Linked DNA regions of Homo sapiens: region 2 is linked to region 1. Evidence: promoter capture Hi-C in 16 types of primary human blood cells and fetal thymus (Javierre and others, 2016). All regions are on one chromosome and are shown on one strand. Each heading gives the region's core, a stretch centred on a gene start or on the middle of the fragment in contact. The rest is flanking DNA. Distances are from core to core; before and after follow the strand shown. Region 1 holds the start of KIAA2013. Region 2 has its middle 12 kb from the start of RNU1-2.

What was found. Contacts are between HindIII fragments. The CHiCAGO score rates a contact against its expected background, and 5 or more counts as called.
Region 2: a fragment that was not itself captured here is called in contact with the fragment with the promoter of KIAA2013 in region 1 in 1 of 17 cell types (monocytes); the score reaches 6.4 in monocytes.

Annotation. Positions count from the first base shown.
Region 1 is chr1:11,924,330-11,927,769 of GRCh38, reverse strand. It overlaps KIAA2013, which reads left to right and starts at 1,343. Exons shown (of 3, transcript NM_138346.3): 1 at 1,343-2,565. The coding sequence starts at 1,533. RefSeq lists enhancers at 1,124-1,418, 1,073-1,736, 1,737-2,399 and a silencer at 1,419-1,488. The HindIII fragment of the contact is 9,969 bases long and covers 1-3,440 here.
Region 2 is chr1:16,906,164-16,909,603 of GRCh38, reverse strand. No RefSeq gene overlaps it. Among named protein-coding and RNA genes, the nearest start is that of RNU1-2, 12 kb to the right of the region's middle. The HindIII fragment of the contact is 606 bases long and covers 1,398-2,003 here.

The DNA.
Region 1 (3,440 bases), core at 94-2,593:
CTCTGCCTCCCTGGTTCAAGCGATTCTCGTGCCTCAGTCTCTCAAGTAGCTGGGATTACAGGCGCCCACCACCACGCCCAGCTAATTTTTGCATTTTTATTTTTTTATTTTTATTTATTTATTTTTTTTTTTTTGAGACAGAGTCTCCCTCTGTCACCCAGGCTGGAGTGCAGTGGCGCGATCTTGGCTCACTGCAAGCACCGCCTCCCGGGTTCACGCCATTCTCCTGCCTCAGCCTCCCGAGTAGCTGGGACTACAGGCGCCTGCCACCACGCCTGGCTAATTTTTTATATTTTTAGTAGAGACAGGGTTTCACCGTGTTAGCCAGGATGGTCTCGATCTCCTGATCTCGTGATCTGGCGGCCTCGGCCTCCCAAAATGCTGGGATTACAGGCGTGAGCCACCGTGCCCAGCCTAATTTTTGTATTTTTAGTAGAGACAGGTTTTCACCATGTTGGTCAGGCTGGTTTCGAACTCCTGACCTCAAGTGATTTGCCCATCTCAGCCTCCTAAAGTGCTGGAATTACAGACGTGAGCCACCACTCCTGGCCTCTGGTGGTTCCCCTTCCCCTCCTCCTCCCTTTTCCTTTCTTCTTCTTTCTTCCTCTTCTTCTCTCTCCTTTTTTTTTCCTCCACTTTTTCGTATTGTTCCAAGTGTTTTTTTGCAGTGAGGATAGTCTTTTTTTTTTTTTTTTTTTTTGAGACAGAGTCTCACTCTGTCGCCCAGGCTGGAGTGCAGTGGCGTGATCTCGGCTCACTGCAAGCCTGCAACCTCCGCCTCACGGGTTCAAGCAGTTCTCCTACCTCAGCCTCCTGAGGAGCAGGGATTACAGGCATGCGCCACCACGCCCGGCTAGTTTTTGTATTTTTAGTAGAGATGGGGTTTCACCATGTTGGTCAGGCTGGTCTCAAACTGCTGACCTCGTGATCCGCCCGCCTTGGCCTCCCAAAGTGCTGGGATTACAGGCGTGAGCCACCGCGCGCGGCGAGAGGATGGTCATTTTTACAGAAACAAAGTTGTTGTGTGTGTGTGTGTGTATGTTTTTAAATTTTGGGGCTGTTGAATCCATCAGTAGCAAAGGGGCCCAACACGTGTTCGGTTTGGCTGGCTCGATGTTTTTTTCACGAGTGAATTGGATGCTTCCAGTCCTCCCCAGACCCCTGCACTTAACTCCACTGGACTTCACTCTTCCGGCCTGGGAACGAGTGGTCCCGCCCCCGGCAGCTTTTGTCCCGCCCTCGCCGTGGCTCCGCCCCCTTCTCTCCGGCCTGCTCTCTCTCCTCCCTCCGCCCTCCCGTTTTCCATCTGTCGTAAAAGACACGGCGACGCTTGACCGCCGGCGTCGTTTGACGGCTGGAGGCCACCGAGAAGAAGGAGGAAGCAGGGGTGGCGGCTGCTGCGGCGGTTGCGGCGGGGGCCGGGGTGGGCGCCGCGGTCCGGGCCGGGCAGTGAGGCGCGGGCGGCCGGGCCGGTGGGCTGGGCGGCGGGCCCGGCGGCCGCCCTCGCACCCTTGCCCGCGCCTGGCGGCCCGATGTGGCTGCAGCAGCGGCTCAAGGGGCTGCCGGGACTGCTGTCGAGCAGCTGGGCCCGCCGCCTCCTCTGCCTGCTTGGCCTCCTGCTGCTGCTTCTGTGGTTTGGGGGGTCCGGCGCGCGGCGGGCGGCGGGCGGCCTGCACCTGCTGCCCTGGTCCCGCGGTGAGCCGGGCGCCGCCGAGCCGTCTGCCTGCCTGGAGGCGGCCACCCGCGCCTGGCGCGGCCTGCGGGAGCGCGGTGAGGTGGTACCGCTGGGTCCTGGAGTGCCGGCCCTGGTGGCCAACGGCTTCCTGGCCCTGGACGTGGCTGCCAATCGGCTGTGGGTGACTCCCGGGGAGCGGGAGCCCGCCGTGGCGCCGGACTTTGTGCCCTTCGTGCAGCTGCGCCCGCTGAGCGCGCTGGCTGAAGCTGGAGAGGCGGTGCTGCTGCTGCGGGAGGGGCTTCTGCGCCGCGTGCGTTGCCTGCAGCTGGGGTCCCCAGGTCCTGGCCCCGTGGCCGCCGGCCCCGGGCCCGCCTCCGTCTCTGGCCTTGCCGCGGGGTCCGGCCGCGACTGCGTGCTGCTGCAAGAGGACTTTCTGGCGCACAGGGGCCGACCCCACGTCTACCTGCAGCGCATCCAGCTCAACAACCCCACGGAGCGCGTGGCCGCGCTGCAGACTGTGGGGCCCACTGCCGGCCCAGCCCCCAAGGCCTTCACCAGTACCCTGGAGAAGGTCGGAGACCATCAGTTCCTCCTCTACTCAGGCCGGTCCCCGCCTACGCCCACTGGGTTGGTGCACCTGGTGGTGGTGGCCGCCAAGAAGCTGGTGAACCGCCTCCAAGTGGCTCCCAAGACGCAGCTGGATGAGACGGTGCTGTGGGTGGTGCACGTCTCTGGCCCCATTAACCCCCAGGTGCTCAAAAGCAAAGCAGCCAAGGAGCTCAAGGCGCTGCAGGACTTGGCACGGAAGGAAATGCTGGAGCTCTTGGACATGCCAGCGGCGGAGCTGCTTCAAGACCACCAGCTCCTCTGGGCTCAGCTCTTCAGCCCAGGTGAGTCCTGGCCAGCGCTTGGTCCACCCTAGATATGTCCCTCCCAAGTCTGCAGAGGTGACACTGAAGGTGATGGTGGGGTGGTTGAAACTTGGGCTTGGCGTTTCACCAGTGGTTGAATCTGCTCAACTGCTTAGTGTCTGTGCGACCTTTGGATTCGTCGCCTAATCTCTCTGGGCCTGTATTTAATAACAATAACGCCTACCTCAGAAGGTTTTTATGAGACTGTAGTGGACAATTGAGTGTAAAGGTCAATTCTTTCTGTTACTTGTTTTGGTAGATGGGGCCTGATGTGAGCAGAGTGAAGTGTTTTAGAGTCAGTTTGCAGAGGTGAAACCAGCAGGTGGATCCCCTGATTCTTTGCTCAGCACCGCAGTCGGCCTGGTGACAGACGTGGGCTTCTTGACATAACCCCTGCTAGGCTGAGGTGCGTCCTGGCAGTTGTGGCTGCAACTGGTTCACAGGGAGGTTGGAGAATCCCTTTTAGCAGGTTGAGATGCTCCCGCCCGATGAAAACTCTCCTCTCGTTGACTGTTAAAGAAAAGAAAATCCTGTTCTGGATGAGAGAGGGGTTTTGGTTTCCAGGGTTCCAATTGTCTGAACCTTTGTGTTTGGTTGCTCAGAGAGTTGAGTTCATTCAGCAAGTATCTATTGAATGCTTCTGCCAGGGCTGTTCTATGCATGGGGGGGTGCAGATGGGAACCAGAGTTCCTGTTCTCATGGTGCTTGCTTAAATTCTGGTTGGGAGGAAGACAGACATTAGAAAAGTGAAAATTAAAATTAAAATAAGGCATCTTTTTAGGCTAGAATGTGCTGGCTGGGCGCGGTGGCTCACGCTGTAATCCCAGCACTTTGGGAGGCTGAGGCAGGTGGAT
Region 2 (3,440 bases), core at 451-2,950, 5.0 Mb before region 1:
TGACATAGAATTCTAGGAAAACTTTATTTCTTTCAGTACTTTAGGATGTTGCCACTTTGTTTTTGTAAAACTGGCTGAAAGTGGGCTTCCTGTACTTGTTATATAATTTTGGGAATGTGTATTTAAATTAAAAACATTAAAATGGGCTGGACGAGGTGGTGCATGCCTATAGTCCCAGCACTTTGGGATGGGGAGATAGGAGGATCGCTTGAGGCCCAGAGTTGGAGACCAATATGGGCAAGATTGCAAGACTCTGTCTCTCATATATATATGAGAGACATATATATATGTGTGTATATATATATATGTGTGTGTGTATATATATGTATACATATATGTATATGTATACACACCCACACACATACATACATACATCGTGAATGTCTTAGATTCATCTTAAGTTCCACCGACAGTGAACTTAAAGTAAAATGTGCCCAACCTGAGGGTCAAACCTACCTGCTGACATGTAATTTGTGTTTATGAGACATTCTCAACAGCATTTGCTTTCCCTAGCATAGTGGTTTTCATGTTTTCCTCACACCTGAGTGTCTTAAGTGCAAAACCTGTCAGAAATCATTTCCTTTGCCAAAAGATACTTTTTTTTTTTTTGATATCAGTTCACTGCAACTTCCCCTTCCCATGTTCACAGGTTTCTCTTGCCTCAGCCTCTCGAGTAGCTGGGACTACAGGCCGGTGCCAACATACCTGGCTAATTTTTGTATTTTTCGTAGAGACAGAGTTTCGCCATGTTGGCCAGGCTGGTCTCGAACTCCTGACCTCAAGTAAAATGCCCACCTCTGCCTCCCAAAGTGTTGGGATTACAGGTGTAAGCCACCGTGCCCGGCCTGAAATACTCTTACTTTAAGGAAAAGTGCATTAAAAACAAACTTCTCAGTTGCATCTCTGGAATCCATAGAAAGCCAGGGAGAGACAATCAAGTGCTACAGGATCAAGTGCTAAACAGGGGAGGACAAAGCATGGCTTCCTAACTAGGAGTCAGGGCAAAGTTACCTGCTTTGGTTTCCAATGGAGACCGGAACTCGGTTCACCTGCAACAGGAGGACGCGGCCCAGAGGAGGCGGACTTTCTCTTCATGGTGCCTTCAGATAGGAAATCTCCTAGGATTTCTTTCTTTCCCTTTGATCTACTTCCAACGCTCCCTTTCTGTTTCTTCAGATGTTTTTTGGATCCCTAATGCGCAGGACCTAAGGGGCTGGTGCCTTTCCCTACCCTCCCTGCCTGGGTGTCTTCAGCACCCAAGCTCACCCAGAACATTACTGCCTGCCAGAGACAGTGAGGGGACCAAGGAGAGTGGCAGGTGCAGTGGGAACCACAGAGTCACCGTGTACCTGTGCTTTGTAGGCTCCTAGCAAATTGAATAAACGCCCCCTGAAGCTTCTCTGCAGGTCACAGGGAAGGGGAGGGTTGTTGCCCACCCAGTGGGAGAAGCGTCAAAAAGCATCAGGAGTATCTGGCCCTACCCCTGTGCCTGGAAGACAGACCTGGCTAGGCTGATTTTAATGGTTAGGCCCAAGGAAAAGGCCCAAGGGCGGCCCAAACCCCGACCCTGAGATTAAGGCTTTCAAATGTCTGATCGTTTTGATGTTGGTCAGTAGAATCCATCCCACCTTTATCAGGAGACTCCTTTGCCAAAATTCAGAGATCTGGGATTCCTGCTGGTTGCCACAGAGAAAGCCAATCACCGAGATGATTATTGCCAAGGAAGGCGCTTTAATAGGGTGCTGCAGTGGGGGAGATGAGAACTCAGTCTCAAATCCATCTCCCTGACCAACAAAACCAGAGGTTTATATGGCAGGGAAGAAATGTAACAATGTGTAAGAAAACAGGAACTAGGGAGGAGCAAGGAAGCAATCATGATGAATGAGGGGTCCCAGCATCTCATTGTCTGGATGAATTTCAGTTCTTTGATGGCTTTTTTGAGAGGCCTGAAGGTTGTTTCCTGAGGAAGGAACTCAGACGAAACAAATATTAAGTTTCAAGCTTTAAGACCAGCAGGGTCAATTTCTAGGTTTATCCAAAAAAGCTACATATGGGACTACTGGGTGGTTTTCAGACCAAGAAAGAAAAAGACTGTGCAGACCAAAGTCTGCAGTTAACCAAAGAAAAAACATAATTTTCTGACCAATAGGATGTATGGGGCCAGAGAATGACCAGCCTATAGAAGAACTGTTTTTTGTCCTGAGCATAGGGGAAGGATGAAGTTGCACCAACTAAGGTGGAATTAAGCTGCAGATGGGGAAAAATCTGGATTTTGGTTCAGAGCCCTGGGGTCTTCCTCAAAAGTCTCTTTCCTTGAAAGAGGAACCCTGTCTCGGTTTCTGCATCTCTCTGAGTCCTTTTGGAGGTTGAGGATGCTGAGGTCTTGGTGCTTGGCCCCCTCTAACCCTGAGTACTTCCCCTCCTGTGGGGTAACCTGGCCCAGTACCCAGGCCCCAGCTCTGGCGACCATTTCCCCCTACTTTGCTCCTAGCAAAGGCCATTTCTAGGTCAGTCGTGAGGTACAGGCAGAACGGGCAACTTCTTCTGAGATTTTTGGCCCTGGAAGGCCTTGAGCCCTGTGGTCCTGCAGAACTGCTGTCTCCCTCTTTTGGAGAAAGCAGGGAGGAAATGACCTGTGTGGGGGGAATTGTGAGCTGCACCTGCACAGAGGAGCTGAGGCAAGCAGGGCAGTTCTGGTCTGTCAATGTAAAGGACATTTATCATTCAAGAGGTTGGGCTGTTATTATTAATTTTGAATTTTGTCAATACAAACTGAAGGGAAATTTGTCTTCTTACTTGTAGGAACCTCACAAGACCACCCATCTTATATTCCAGGGAGAATTGCTGCGTATTACACAAACTCATAGGTGAGACTGCCGTTCTGACCTGCAGGCCTGGATGCCCTGCACAGGGGCACAGAGCACTGGCAAAGCCCTTCCCATACAAACAGCAAGCATGTTATGTCTACAACCCAACGGCACCAGTTCCAAGTACAATTTCTACTTGGCTGTATGAGCTGAGTACACGTTCCCCCCAGCACAGAAATCCTGCAAACTCCCATGAATGCTATAGTGAAAAGCAGGGGCTGGCCAGGTGTGATGGATCACACCTGTAATCCCAGGACTTTAGAAGGCCAAGGCAGGGCGGATTATTTGAGTCCAGGAGTTGGAGACCAACCTGGGCAACATGGTGAAACTTCAACTCTTAAAAAACAAAACAACCACCACCACAACAAAACCAAGAACAGAAATTAGCTGGCTGTGGTGACTCGTGCCTCTGCTACTCCAGAGGCTGAGGTGGGAGGATCGCTTAAACCAAGATGCTACCAGATAGAGTGAGACTCTGTCTCGGGGAAAAAGACAAACAAAATAAGTCTGTGTAAGAGGTGACTCTGGGGACAGTGGAAAAACACTAAGGTTTTCAAGTGGTGGTAAAAGCCA